Regions from separate parts of the Homo sapiens genome. Here region 2 is linked to region 1. Evidence: promoter capture Hi-C in human tissues and cell types (Jung and others, 2019). All regions are on one chromosome and are shown on one strand. Each heading gives the region's core, a stretch centred on a gene start or on the middle of the fragment in contact. The rest is flanking DNA. Distances are from core to core; before and after follow the strand shown. Region 1 holds the start of WSB1 (WD repeat and SOCS box containing 1). Region 2 overlaps NLK (nemo like kinase).

Evidence for each region. Contacts are between HindIII fragments. The study calls those that stand out against the background at their distance.
Region 2: a fragment that was not itself captured here is called in contact with the fragment with the promoter of WSB1 in region 1 in 1 of the 25 tissues and cell types used here (hippocampus).

What each region holds. Positions count from the first base shown.
Region 1 is chr17:27,289,595-27,297,424 of GRCh38, reverse strand. It overlaps WSB1 (WD repeat and SOCS box containing 1), which reads right to left and starts at 3,311. Exons shown (of 9, transcript NM_015626.10): 1 at 2,990-3,311. The coding sequence starts at 3,029. MIR4522 (microRNA 4522) reads left to right here and starts at 3,429; the gene lies at 3,429-3,515. RefSeq lists enhancers at 3,033-3,092, 3,103-3,162, 3,533-3,582 and a silencer at 3,283-3,492. The HindIII fragment of the contact is 10,527 bases long and covers 1-7,830 here.
Region 2 is chr17:28,065,406-28,073,235 of GRCh38, reverse strand. All of the region lies in intron 1 of NLK (nemo like kinase), which reads right to left. Among named protein-coding and RNA genes, the nearest start is that of NLK, 27 kb to the right of the region's middle. The HindIII fragment of the contact is 5,235 bases long and covers 2,144-7,378 here.

The DNA.
Region 1 (7,830 bases), core at 2,062-4,561:
GGCCGAGGAGGGTGAATCACCTGAGGTCAGGAGTTCCAGACCAGCTTGGCTAACATGGTGAAACCCCCCATCTGTACTAAAAATACAAAAAATCAGCCAGGTGTGGTGGCACGAACCTGTAATCCCAGCTACTCGGGAGGGTGAGGCAGGAGAACTGCTTGATCCCGAGAGGTGGAGGTTGCAGTAAGCTGAGACTGCGCTACTGCACTCCAGCCTGGACGACGGAGCGAGACTCAGTCTCAAAGGAACAAAAAAAAAAGTAAAAGAGCGGTAACAATTACTAAAAAATTGGTTCAAATAGATAGCAAAGACAATGAAATAATAACATATTTATAACATAATTCTCAAATATATACAAACTCAAGAAATAGAGCCATTATAAAACCTACCAAATAAATGCATTAATCTGTTAAAATTTACTAATAATTGCCTTGTGTTTCTTTGCTGGATAACAGGTATATCAAATTGCCTTTGGCACTTTAATAAAATGATTTAAGTGCTCAGATTAAATACTGGTACAATTTTATAAACCTAGCACAAAGTTTGTAATAAAGTGCTTTGAAAAAAAATTTTTAAGTTAAACCTTTATTACATTATCTGTAACTGTTTAATGTTAGCAACAGAAATGTATGATTTAATGACCTTATTAAGGGAAAGGCTGCCATGGGAAATCAGCCGTAAGATACAACACTACATTATTAATATCTGTAAAACAGTAACATACCATCTGAGTCACTGCTGAACCAAGCAAACCAGATTTAGCTCCTTCTTTACATTCCTCCCCAAAATTTCATAACCAGAAAGGGATGATCTGTGGCAGTGCCTTGTGAAAAAGGGCAGTAGCTCAAGGCAGTAGTATCACAGAATTATTTAATCATTCATGGAAATCTTGCCTCTACTCTCCGTATGTCCTTGAGAAACTAAACTTGGCTTGGCTTTTAATTAACACCCAAGAAAAGAAAAAAAGTAAATCCTTATTCATAGATTTAAAAAGCTACGCAGAGAAATGTTCAACCTTGTATCCAAATGATAATTCAAAAAAAGAAACAAAGAAAAAAACTGGGGTTAAAAAAAGCTCAGAAAAAGCAAAAGTTCTTCTAGATATCTGGCACTTAGCTAGTAAGTTTTTATAACGTATCCAGGAAATAACACTGAGACCTAAATATGAAAAAAAAAAAGAAAGAAAAGAAAAGAGAAATCAGGGGGCTAGTGGGGGAACACTTAGTGGATGGTTCTACTTTATGTAGGTATGCTATCCATCTCTATCCATCTCTTAGAAAACAAAACCGGAAATCTGGGCGGGGTGGCTCACGCCCGTAATCCTAGCACTTTGGGAGGCAGAGGTGGGCGATCACCTGAGGTCGGGAGTTCGAGACCAGCCTGACCAACATGGAGAAACCCCATCTCTACTAAAAACACAAAAATTAGCCGGGCGTGTGCATGCCTGTAATCCCACCTACTCAGGAGGCTGAGGGAGGAGAATCGCTTGAAACCGGGAGCCGGAGGTTGCAGTGAGCCGAGATCGTGCCATTGCACTCCAGCCTGGGCAACAAGAGCAAAAACTCCATCTCAAAAAAAAAAAAGAGAGAGAGAAAACAGGACCGCAAAGTTTTCAAAATGGTTTATCAGGATGAAGTAAAATACAGATTTAAAAAAAAGGCAGATCACTCGTCTATAACATTATGGTGTACTAAAGTAAAAGAAAAACCCACTGGACTGATAAGAACTTTTGAGTTCTTTGTCCCACTTCGCGACATACTTTCTAGTCTTAAAATACAGTTAAAATAATAACTGGACACAAATTCTGTGTTCTTTGCATCTTTTTTTTTCTTTTTTCTGTGTGAACTCTGCTACAATTTTTTCCCTTTTTTTTCTGTGTTTGTATCTTTAAAAATGGTTATTAAAACCAGGGTTAAAGTCCCTTCCTAATCAATCATCCCTAAGACAACAAAAGTCCAGAATTCTAAAACAGCTGTTTCTAGATATAAAAATTCACCCACATACAAAATAGTGCGCGTTTTGGCTACTTCAGCCTCTTCCCTTCTCTAGAAATAACTCCTCCTTGTACTTAGTAAAGGCACACATTCACTTCAAGAGTAGGAAAATGTAAATGCTCTCTGCTCAGCGGCCGCAGCTAATTATTACTTCACACAGTAAGATCAGTGTTTGCTAAGTGTTATCAGCCAATGTACAGCACCCCCCAACACCGTCAAACGTTGTTCCAGTTATTTTACTTTAAAAGAGGATTTAAATAATGCGACGTGCTTTCCACTGAGCCACTAAGTAGGTGTGGACGCACAACCTTCAACACTAATTGCCCTTTACTAAGCCGACCAGGGCTAGACACTAAGCCAGAAAAGCCTTTTCCAGAGTTTCCTCTTCCGCACAAAAGCTTTCCTTCTGTCACTCCACCCAACCACCCAGCTCCTCCCTTAAGTGTTTGAAAGATAATTCTAAAAGTCTCCTCCCCCGAACCGCTGCGTTTCTTAAGGCCACACCATTTTAAAAATACTGTATTGCTTTTGCCAGGCTGTTGGGACCTCTTCCATCTCATTTCTATCTAAGAGTGGTTGGTACACACGAGGACCCCCTCCTTTCATTACCGCTTACAACCCACAAGTTTACTTTTCCCCATTGTAAACCTAAAGTCCCTGAGTGGCCCTTCCCTGTCCACTCGACAGTCATGCCCTGAGCCAAGAACTCCCAGGACAAGAGCCCTGCGCGGACCTCCGACGAAGAAACCGGGGTCCTTGCCCGCCCCAGCCACACAGCAACCGCGAGGGAGCACAGTAGGTGCTGCATCCACGTCGGTGCCGTTTACCCCTCAGCCAACTCCCACCGAGGCGGCTTCCTCCTCCTCGCTAGTGGGCTGGCCCTGGCGCACTGGAGCTCTTCCCTCAGACTTGGAGTCGCTTCCTCCCAAACCTCCTCCGGGGAGTCCCTGCCTCTCCTCGGCCCTCATGCGCCCACCCACGGTCCCAATCCTCACCGATCTCTTTCTCGTTGACCCTCGGGGGAAAGCTGGCCATCTATGGGGCACCGTCTGATTCCGGGAATACGATGCGGACCCAACAACAGAGAAGAGAGTGGCGACCGCTGAGGGGCGTGACGCCAAGTTGGTCCCTCCCGGGCCCAGGGACAGAGGAGACGGGCGGGGGCGGCCGCTGCGGCTTCTGCTAACTGCCTCGGGAAAGCTCCCGAAGGCCTCAGACCAAAGTACGGAGTCAACCACAGACAATAGACCCTGTACCCAGCCTCGCGCCTGCGGAGGAAGACAGTTCCCCTAAAGCGCCGACTGCAAACGAGACACTGGAGTCAAAATGGCGGGCGGCGCCGGAGATATCTGGGCGGCAGGGGCGCGGCCACGTGACGTCACAGCCCGAGGCCCCCGCCTCCCGACGCACGGGACGTGATCTCCCCGGCCCGGCGCGGGCGTTGCCTGGGGGCCTCGCAGGGGGAGATCCAGCCCAGGCTGGTTCCGCTGACTCTGCCTGTAGGCCGGTGGCGTCTTCTGGGCCTGGATGGTCTAATATGGAGTTTATAAGCTGAAGTGGCTTTGAAAAGGGCAAGCAGAGAATTGTATTATTATTAGCCTCCTAGCTTAAAGATTGCATGGAACTTAAACTGGCTGAACCAAAAGAACAAAAAGACATTTCAGGTTTTCACTCAATTTGGCCAACTCCCCAGCCCACAAGTAATAGGGAACTGAAGGATGCACTGATGAAAAAGACAGGATGAAAATTAACATCGTTGTGCACCACCTGTCCAGCTGCGATTGTTCAGACCTGAGCCAGCAGGTTTTAGGAAGGGCCGAGGGGAACGAGAAGGAGACTCGGGCGTGATCGCGCCGCACCGCGCCGCGGGGCCTCTCTGGACTGCCTTTGTCCTGGCCAAGATGGATCCCACTGTCCTGGCCAAGATGGATCCCACTGTGTCAGCTCAGAATTGGCCCTTCCTCCACCTTACCTGAAGGCCTCTGGGAGGCACCTAGTTGTCCACACATCAGACTGATAAATGTGTCAGTATCTGCTAGATGCCAGCTTGGTTCCCGGTCACAGATGACGTATTTGCATTTTAATGGCTTCTCGTGTGGACCCTAAACATTGCAAAGGCCTGGGGCGTATAAGACTGGGAATTCAAATATGTGGCAGATATTCATGGGACAGAGTAGAGTGTTGCATAGCCGCTTTTTTTTTTTTTTTTTTTTTTTTTTTTGAGACGGAGTCTCGCTTCTCCCAGGCTGGGGTGCAATGGCGTGATCTTGGCTCACTGCAACCTCCGTTTCCCGGGTTCAGGCAATTCTCCTGCCTCAGCCTCCCCAGTAGCTGGGATTTGTACAGGCATGTGACACCAAGCCCGGGTAATTTTTGTATTTTTAGTACAGAGGGCGTTTCACCCTGTTGGCCAGGCTAGTCTCGAACTCCTGGCCTCGAGTGATCCGCCCGCCTCAGCCTCCCAAAGTGCTGGGATTACAACGTGAGCCACCACGCCCGGCTGCATAGCCGCTTTTAAGAGATCTCAAATGATAACACTGTAGGGCATGTTTACTTCATCTTTTCTTTGCATGAGTGTATTAATTCTTCAAATAGCGAAATGTTTAATAAAACATCGCCCCTCCTTTTTTTTTTTTTTGGTTATTTATTTATTTTTTTTTTTGAGACGGAGTCTTGCTCTGTCTCCCAGAGCAGAGTGCAGTGGCGCCAACTCGGCTCACTGCAACCTCTGCCTCCCGGGTTCAGGCGATTCTCCTGCCTCAGCCTCCCGAGTAGCTGGGACTACAGGTGGCTGCCACCACGCCCAGCTAATTTTTTTCATCCTTTTAGTAGGGAGGGGGTTTCACGATATTGGCCAGGCTGGTCTTGAACTCCTGACCTTGTGATCTGCCCACCTCGGCCTCTCAAAGTGCTAGGATTAGAGGCGTTAAGCTACTGCGCCCTGCCTGCCCCTCGTCTTTAAAAAAAAATCACTTTGTTAGGCTGGGGGCGGTGGCTCACGCCTGTAATCTCAGCGCTTTGGGAGGCTGAGGCGGGTGTCAGGAGTTCGAGACCAGCCTGGCCAACATGGTGAAACCCCCATCTCTACTAAAAATACAAAAAATTAGCCAGGCGTAGTGGCGAAGTCCCAGCTACTCTGGAGGCTAAGGCAGGAGAATTGCTTGAAACCGGGAGGCAGAGGTTGCAGTGAGCTGAGGTTGCACCACTGCACTCTAGCCTGGGTGACAAGAGTGAAACTCTGTCTCAATAAATAAATAAATCAATAAATCACTTTGTTAGCTTCAGTCAACGATATCTTGAGGACTCACTCTGTATCAGGCACTGGGCCTAGTTGCTGAATTTTTAGAGTAGAACAAAAGAAAAACTTTAATGCAGTCTTGTAGCTCATGTACCAACATTCATATCAGTCTGAGTTAATTCTTTTAACCAACTGCTATTATCCCTGTTACTTGTACTATACCATACAAATTCATGGGAAATACCAGTTTTTGAGTGTCCAACAGTGAATTATTGTGATGACTTTTTCTTTTTTTTTTTCTCCCTGAGATGGAGTCTCACTCTGTCGCCCAGGCTGGAGTGCAGTGGCACGATCTCGGCTCACTGCAACCTTTGCCTCCTGGGTTCAGGTGATTCTCCTACCTCAGCCTTCCGAGTAGCTGGGATTACAGGCACACGCCACCATGGCTGGCTGATTTTTGTATTTTTAGTAGAGACGGGATTTCACCATGTTGGCCAGGCTGGTCTCAAACTCCTGACCTCAAGTGATCTGCCCGCCTTGGCCTCCCAAAGTGCTGGAATTACAGGCGTGAGCCACCCCGGCCAGACTTTTTAATACAATTGTTTAATTTCTATTTTAGTTTATTCCTGCAAGCCAACAGACTTCCTGGCCATTTTCTCAACTGGCAAAGCATGACAATGGAATGAAAAATAATTTTATGATTTGTGTACTCATTAGTAATAGATACTTCTAAGCACTGAGCCATATAAGTGCTTCTGTGGATTAACCGATTTCATGCTCACAACATATGAGCAGTGTATTGACATACATTACAGAAAAACTTTAATGCAGTCTTGTAGCTCATATACCAACATTTATATCCATCTCAGTTAATTCTTTTAACCAACTGCTATTATCCCTGTTACTTGTACTATACCATACAAATTCATGGGAAATACCAGTTCTTGAGTGTCCATCAGTGAATTATTGTGATGACTTTTTCTTTTTTTTTTTTCTCCCTGAGATGGAGTCTCATTCTGTCGCCCTGGCTGGAGTGCACATACAGTGTATTGACATACATTTCATAGACACTTAGTAACCTGAGAAGCCACAGGACAGAGTAAGCTGCAGGGGCTAGATCTGAACTCAGACTTGTTTGACTGCCCTGCTTCCATGCTACCTTGCCTCTCATAAATGAAACCTAGCTTGAAAAGCAAATATATACCTGGCATTTCATATCTGTGTTTGCTACTTTAATGTCAAATCTGAAGGGGCTTCTTATTCCCTACATGTCGCATAGATGTTGGGGTTCTCTAGAGTTCTGTCCTTGGCCCACAGCTTTTTTTTTTTCCTTCTTTCGCAGTCTCCCTGGGTGATGGCAACCTCTTTCTTGGGTTTAAATACCAGCTCTGTGTGAAGACCCTCAAGTTGAGAGCTAACTTCCGTCTTTTTTTTTTTTTTTTGAGACGGAGTCTTGCTTTGTCACCCAGGCTGGAGTGCAACAGCGCGATCTCAGCTCACTGCAACCTTCGCCTCCTGGACTCAAGCAGTTCTCCTGTGTCAGCCTTCCCAGTAGGTGGGATTACAGGTGCACACCACCATACCCAGCTAATTTTTGTATTTTTAGTAAAGACAGTGTTTCACCATGTTGACCAGGCTGGTCTCGAACTCCTGACCTCAGGTGATCCACCTGTGTCGGCTTCCCAAAGTGCCGGGATTACAGGCATGAGCCACTGAGCCCGGCCTGTCTTAAGTTTAAAATTTACATGTTCAAATGCTTACAATAAAACTCAAAATGTCAAAACTGAACACATCATTTCTCCTCAGTCTGCTCCATCTTTTGTATTTCCTACTCTAGTGAAATGTCCACCCAGTCACAGGTGCCAGAGGTGAGTCTTCCTAGCTTCCCTGCTATGCCTCATCCCAACATGAAATCAACCAATCCACAAGGCTTGCCAATATTTTATCTTAAACTGTTCTAGAGTCTGTCCTGTCTGTCCCAGCTCAGCTGCCATGGGCTTAGTTCAAGATCTTGTCATTTCAATCCTCTTAACAATCCTTTATAACCCCACACCCTGAAAAACCACCATTGACACCTTGGTGTTATTTCCTTCCCCTTAAAAAGTTGTATTAGTAATGTCATGTCTTTAGACAAATAATTTAGCCTCCCTGTGCCTCAGTCTTCTCATCCAGAAAATGGGGATAGTAATAATACCTACTTCACAGTTTTGAGGATTAGTATTTACAACAGGGCCTGACACAGAGTACTATATATGTGTTAAATACTATTTTTATATATAGTAATCCTAGCTAACTGCAAAACTGAAAGATCAAAATCTCATAGAAAATAGAGGGTTGGCAAAAAGCTGTGAAATAACATTAAGTATATGTACAATTGAAACAATAAATAAAAGGCCAGGCATGATGGCTCATGCCTATAAGCCCAGCACTTTGGTAGGTTGAGGCAGGCAGATTGCTTGAGCCCAGGAGTTCTAGATTAGCCTTAGCAACATGGTGAAACCTTGCTTCTACAAAAAAAATACAAAAAATTTAGCTGGGCATGGTGGCACGCACTTGTAGTACCAGCTACTCAGGAGGCTGAGGTGGGAGGATCACCTG
Region 2 (7,830 bases), core at 3,512-6,011, 770 kb before region 1:
GAGGGCGATAATGAGAATAAGGGTCTTTATTGGCTTTGGTTCTTGGTAGAAGAGTAAAACAGAAATATGTCTCCACTGTGAATTCTTAGTAAGTCTGCACCCTTTGTGACTAAAATTCAAACTAGTGGTGTGGCCTGAAAAACTCAAGTCAAAAATTTACTTAAAAGTAGGTGGTACTACTAGATACTCACATCATCTCTGGAAAAAAAAAAATCTAATACCCTGCTTCAAAAAAATCACAAAAAATAAAGTTCTAATGTCATGGGCTCACAATTTTACAAAATCACCAAAGAAACAAGCACCTACAAGTAAGAGCCAATGTATTAGACCAACAAAGACAGCAGATAAGAGTATTATCAGATGCAAACATAAAATATTTTTAATGTATTTGAAAAAATATAAAAGGGGGAACAAGTATGACAGAATAGGAGACTATTAAAACGGACCAGGCAGATTCGAAAATAAACAATATTTATTACCCATGGAATTTAAACATGCATACTAAAATTTCAAGGGCAACTGAAAGAACAAAATAAGGTATGAAACTTACAAATAAGGGGTGGAAAATCTCAAGCAATTCAAAAGAAGGCAAATAAAGAGAAAAATATGAAAAGCAGAACATAAGAAATATATAAATAAGGTGGTAGGGACAAATTTAAAAAGATCAGCGCACTCATCTCGGCAGTCTGAGACCAGCCTGGGCAACACAGTGAGACCCTGTCTCTACAAAAAGTTTTTAAAAATTAGTTGGGCGTGGTGGCATGTGACTGTGGTCCCAGCCCCTTGGGAGGCTGAAGTTGGAGGATTGCTTGAGCACAGCAGGTGGAGGCTGCAGTGAGCCGTAACCGCACATCTGCACTCCAGCCTGGGTGACCAAGCAAAACCCTGTCTCAAAAAAAAAAAAAAAAGAAAAAGAAGAAGAAAGAAGATCAGTAAGCACAATTGATGGAAATGAATTAAGTGTTTCCCTTAAAAGATTGTCAGACTAGATTAAAAAGCTGAATTTAAATGTATGCTGTATATCAGAGACATATAAAATATAAGAACAGAAATGCTGAAAATAAAAAAATAAAAAAGAAGTTAAAACATCTACCAAAACACAGAACAAAGAAAACTGGTTAACCACTTCCAGTTAGAACACAGAAATATGACACTTTGCATAACAAGGAGAAAAGGTTAGATAAGCAATGAAATCATACTTTTTGTTGGGTGGTTGGTTGGTTAGTTGGGTGGTTGTATACAAGAAAGCTGAGAACTCAAAGAACGTAAATGAACTAAACTCCAGAGAAAGAGAAGCCCTTGCTAAGAGAGAAAACACTCCAAGCCCTTTTCATCCCTGGGTCACAGTGGAAAGAAGAGTAAACTGCATGCTGAAAGCAGGGCAAGAGAAACCAAAATAATCTTTTAGCAACCTTTCATTGGCTGAAGATATTTGACTTAATTAATTAAAACCTGAGGCTCTCCAGACCTGTTCTGCCAATTCTTTCTGATGAAGCCTTCACGTAGGATACAGCAGGATTGCTGAGAGGGATCGCCCTCAAGTAACATGGTGCCTTAAGTGAATGTAAGGTTGAAGGCAGGACAGGAGTGCCTACAACTAGTCAATGACATTGGACAGTGAAACTGAAAATAAAAATACCATTTCCAATGGCATCGAAAAATATTAAATACTTAGTGATAAACTAAACATGTGCAAGGCCTCTAAAATGCAAGCTCCCAAACACTGCCAAGAGAAATTAAAGACTATAATAAATGGAGATCAGAGTGGTTGACAAAGGCTGTTAAAAAAAAAAAAAAAAAAGTGGAGAGCTATACCATGTTCATGGAATGGAACACTCAACTTTCTTAAAAATTCTCTTCTATTTGATCTACAGAGTTGACATCTTCCAATAAATATCCCAACAGATTTTTAAAGAAACTGACAAGCTAATTCTGTAATGATATGAAAACACAAAGCTTCTAGAGTAGCCAAAATAATCTTGAATTAAAACAAGTAAGTTGGAAGACTTACGCTATCTGACTTCAAGAGTTACTTTAAAATAGTGTTTCTCAACTGAGGGTGACTTTGTTCCCTAGGGGACATTTGGTACTGTCTGTAGACATTTTTTGATTATCACACCTACTGAGTGGCTACTAGCATTTAGTGGTGGAGGCAAGGGATGATGCTGAACATCCTATAATACATAGGAGACCCTCCCACAGCAAAGAACTATCAGGCCCAAAATGTCAATAGTGCTGAGATGGAAAAATCCTGCTCTAAAGCTACAGTATATAAAGACAGTGTGGCATTAACATAAGACTAGACCAAAAGACTAATGAAACAGAAAAGCTTAGAATTTCACTATATTTATATAGTCAATTGATTTTCCACAGTGGAGCAAGGCTATTCAATAAGGGTGAAAAAATCTTCTTAAAGAAGGATGTTGTGAGAATAGGTAAAATTAGTATTTTAGAATAGTGTTTTACTTTAAAATTAGTATTTTACTTTAAAATTAATATTTTACTTTAAAATTAGTATTTTAAAAAACAAAACAACAAAAATGCCTCAAACCCTTATCTTAGTCCATATACAAAAATTAATTTCAGGCTGGGCACGGTGGCTCATGCCTGTAATCCCAGCACTTTGGGAGGCCGAGGTGGGAGGATCACAAGGTCAAGAGATCAAGACCATCCTGGCCAACATGGTGAAACCCGTCTCTACTAAAAATATAAAAATTAGCTGGGCATGGTGGTGTGTGCCTGTAGTCCCAGCTCCTCAGGAGGCTGAGGTAGGAGAATCCTTGAACCTGGAAGGTGGAGGCTGCAGTGAGCCGAGATCGCACCACTGCACTCCAGCCTGGCAACAGGGCGAGATTCCGTCTCAAAAAAAAAAAAAAAAAAATTAATTTCAGATGGAAAACTTACCTAAACATAAAAATTAAAACCTTAAAACTTCCAGAAAAAATAAAAGAGAATAGTTTCATGACCTTGGCACTAGACAAAGATTTCTTCTTTTTTTTTGAGACACAGTCTTGCTCTGTTGCCCAGGCTGGAGCGCGGTGGTGCGATCTTGGCTCACTGCAACCTCCGCCTCCTGGATTCAAATGATTCTCATGCCTCAGCCTCCTGAGTAGCTGGGATTACAGGCATAGGCCACTATGCCTCACTAATTTTTCTAATTTTAGTAGAGACAGGGTTTCACCATGTTGGCCAGGCTGATCTCGAACTCCTGACCTCAGGTGATCTGCCTGCCTCGGCCTCCCAGAATGCTAGGATTACAGGCACGAAACACCATGCCCAGCTAGACAAAGATTTCTTATACTGAACCAAAAAATGTACTAATAATAAAAGAAAAAGTTGATAAACTTAACTTCTCAAAATAGAATTTTCTGTTCATCAAAAGACATCATTTACAAAATGAAAAGGTAAGTTACAGAGTAGGAGAAAATACAATAGATTGATCTGTCAAAAGGCTGGTATTCAGAAAAAGAAATAAGACTCCTACAGTATAATAATAATAATGACAAACCAATCATTTAAATGGGTGGAAAACTTCAACAGAATTTTCAGGAAAAAAAAAGACATGCCAACAGCCAATAAATACATGAAAATGTGGCAAACATCATTAGCCATCATGGTAATGCAAATTAAAACTAAAATGAGATACTACTTCACACCCACTAAAATGGCTACATTCAAAGACCATCAAATTTTGCAAGGATTTGCAAGTGGGTTAGAACTCTCATCTTTGCTGGTAGTAGTACAAACTGGTAAAGCCACTTTGGAAAACTGCTTTGGCAATCTTAATAAAGTTAAATATATATGTACTCTACAACCCAGCAATTCCATCCCTAGATATTTATCCTTAGAGAAATAAAAACTTATATCCATAAAAAGACTTATGTAAGAATAGTCTAAAACTGGAAGGAACAGAAGGATGGATAAACAAACTGTGCTATATTCATACACTGACATATGATTCAGTAATAAAGAGAAAAAAACACTGATATGTGCAAGCAACATAGATGAATTGCAAAAACATTATGTAGAGTGAAAGAAGCCTCGCACATAAGAGTACATACATATTGTAAGATTCTATCTATATAAAATCTAAGAACAAGCAAAACTAATCAAAGATGACAGAAACCAAAAAAGTGGCTGCCTAGGGCAGGGGGAGGGGGATGCATGGTAGAATTTACTTGAGTGAACTTTCTGGGGTGATAAAATGTTCTGTATCTTGATTGGGTGGTACTTACTATAGTAGAAACACATCAAAAAAGGCTAGGTGTGTGGCTTACACCTGTAATTCCAGCACATTGGGAGGCTGAGGCGTGAGGATCGCTTGAGCCCAGGAGTTCAAGACCAGCTTGGGCAACATAGTGAGATCCCATCTCTATAAAAATTTTAAAAATTAGCCTGGTGTGGTGGCACATGCCTATAGTCCCAGCTACTCTGAAGGCTGCAGCAGGGGATCACTTGAACTCACAAGTTTGAGGTTACAGTGAGCTATGATCATGCCATTGCATTCTAGCTTGGGCAACAGAAAGAGATCTTGTCTCTAAAAAATAGAAAAAATTTTAAAAATTAAAATACAATTAGCAAACTTTAGTGGACATATACAAAACATTAATCAACTGCAGAATAAATATACGTTTTAAAAACAAAAGGATATTTATAAATAGTGATCACATACAAGGCCACAAGGTAAATCTCAACAAATTCCCCCCCAAAATGGTATCAATCACGCAAACCACATATTCTAATCACAACAAAATTATATCACAAGATAGTAACCTAAAAACAAATATCATTTTTGAAAATTAAAAACAGGATCATCTGAAGATATTAAGTTCCCTTGATTGTTCAGTCAGTTCCAAATACAACTCCTTATTTTACTCTTTCCCCCTTCTGACTACTGCACTTGACTAAAAAGAAAAAAAGAAAATTAAAAACACACTTCTAAGCAATCTATAGGTTAAAGAAGAAATGAGACACACAACTATGGCCAATTAATTTTATGAGAAAAGTATAAAGGCAAATCAATGGAGAAAGGACAAACTTTTCAACAAATGGTATTGGAACAATCGAACATCCATATTTTTTTTTTTTTTTTTTTGAGACGGAGTCTCGCTCTGTGGCCCAGGCTGGAGTGTGGTGGCTCCCTCTCGGCTTACTGCAACCTCCACCTCTCGGCTTCAAGCAATTCTCCTACCTCAGCCTCCTGAGTAGCTGGGATTACAGGCGTGCACCACCATGCCCTGCTAATTTTTGTATTTTTAGTAGAGGTGGGGTTTCACCATGTTGGCCAGGCTGGTCTCAAACTCTTGACCTCAGGTGATTCACCTGCCATGGCCTCCCAAAGTGCTGGGATTATAGGTGTGAGCCACCATGCCCAGACCATATATATATATATATATATTTTAAGAAGGTCTACCTACAGTTTGGATCACAATACCGAGACACAATTTTGAACGCCATAATCCTCAGTGTTGAAATCCCAAAAGAGCAAAATCCCCAAAGTCTCAATCTCTAACATCTAAGATCCCAAAAGTCACCATCACAGGATAGTTGCATCATGTTTGACCAGATCTTATGAACTATCTCCATGCTAACTGCCCAAATCTATCCCTAATGCCAGTTTTTTTATATATTGAATTTTTTTAGTTTTTTCTTTTAAAAATTTTTTTCCACTACTTTTAATTGTCAGCCTTTTTTTTTTTTTAAACAATTCTCTGTGCCATGTATTTAATCTTCACATCATTTCCAATACTGGAGATATAAATTGCATAGAGACTGTTAGAGAGTTCTAATTTGTTTTATGCATGTTTTGCAAATTTGACTCCATGAAAGTGCATTAGAATGCTGACTTTGTGTGCAAGCATTGTCCATGTACATAAAAATTGTTAAAACTTCAATAAATGAATAGATGTTCTTTTTGTAAAAAACATAAAAATAAAAATAAAGGTCTACCTAAACTTCACATCTAGTACAAAAACTAACCCAAACATGAAATACAGACTTCAGTGTAAACCATTAAACTATACAACTTTTAGAAGAAAACGCAGAATTCTTCATGACCTGGGTCAGGCAAAGAGTTTCTAGATTTAACACCAAAAGTTATGATCTGAAAAGAAAAAGTGGATCAACTGGACTTCACCAAAATTAAAATGTTTGTATTGCAAAAGACACTCAGGAGAATTTTTTTAAAAAGGAACTACAGACTGGGAGAAAATATTTGCAAATCACGTATCTGAAAGAGGATTTATATCCGGAATATGTAAAGATCATTCAAAACCTACTATTAAGAAAGCCACCCAATTAAAATATGGGCAAAGGCTTGAATAGATACTTTACAAAAAAGGATACAGAGACAGCTAATAAGCACTTGAAAAGATGCTCAACATCTTGAGTTATTAGGGAAATGCAAAACCACTATAAACAGTATTACATACCTATTAAAATGGCTAAAATTAGGAAGAAAAAATTGGATATCACCAAATGCTCACAAGCAACTGGAACTTTTATACCTTGTTGGTGGGAATGCAAATTGCGATTGCTTTGGAAAACAGTTTGGTAGTTTCTTTTAAGCTTGAACATATAATTTGAACCAGTCATTCCACTCCTAGGTATTTACCCAAGAGAAATGAAAGCCTATGTCCACAGAAATATTGTAAATGAATATTCATTCCAATTTTATTTGTAATAACCAAAAACTGCAAACAACCTAAATGTCCATCAACAGGTGAAGAGGGTTTTAAAGTTGTGATATATTAATACAATGAACAAGAACAAACTATTAGTACATGCAACATAAATCGTAAGGACTGAAATGTGCCCACTGGATTTGGTACTTAACTGCTAGTTAATAACAGGTCATGTATTTGTCAGAGCAGTTTGGGCTGTATGGTATATGGTATATGTAGAAATGACTGCACAGTGGACTGTGAATAAATGAAAGATGAAGAGGCAGAGACAGTGATGGACAACTACATTTTCAAGGACCTTGGCTGCGAAGGGAAAGAAAGAGGTTAGACTGGTAATCTAGAGGATGAGGGTTGAATTTAGGGATGAGGTTTCAGTAAGTTTACAGGGTAAGAGGAAAGGGAGAGGGGCAGAGGTTGAACACCTGAAAGAAGATAATAGTGGAGTAAAGCCTCTGGAAAAACTGGAAGAGAACAGGATCTGGAGACTGAAAAGTAAAGGAAAGCTACGTTGACATAACTTCGTCTGTGGGTGTAACAGGAAGTTACCCAGTTCCTGCATCCCTTGGCTTTATCTTCTCTGTGAAATAGGGGAATGAAGTCATCTGTAGAAACTGAGGAAGAGGTGGAGTAGGAACTTGAGGAAAGTGGTAGTGGTTAGAAATAGCTGTGTGAGCAGTGGAGAAATGAGCTGACTTGAGACAAGTCTAAGACTTGCTAGAGAACACTGAAGGCCCAACAAAGGTTATATACCATGAACCATGTCAAACTGCCATGAAAGTTTCTAAATATCTAGTAATGAGCCTCAAGCAAGTTATGGGATAAGGAGAAATGTTTTTATTTATCACTGCCAATTTGTAATAAAGTTTGGGTCCACACTAGGAGGAACATTCACCTAGACTACTACAACTACCTTCTCCCAGCTTCTAGACCTGTTCCTACTCCAAACCATTCTTCTTAGTATTGCCTGAGCCACCTTCTAAAAATAAATCTGATCATTTTAATCATTTAAGTCATTCAATAGCTTCCCAGATTCAGATAAAATCTCAAGGTATTAATAAAGCAAAAAGGGTCCTTCATAATCCAACCTCTTGTTCTCATCTCTTAGCGATCACATTCATCCTACATTCTAACCATAATGAACCAATTC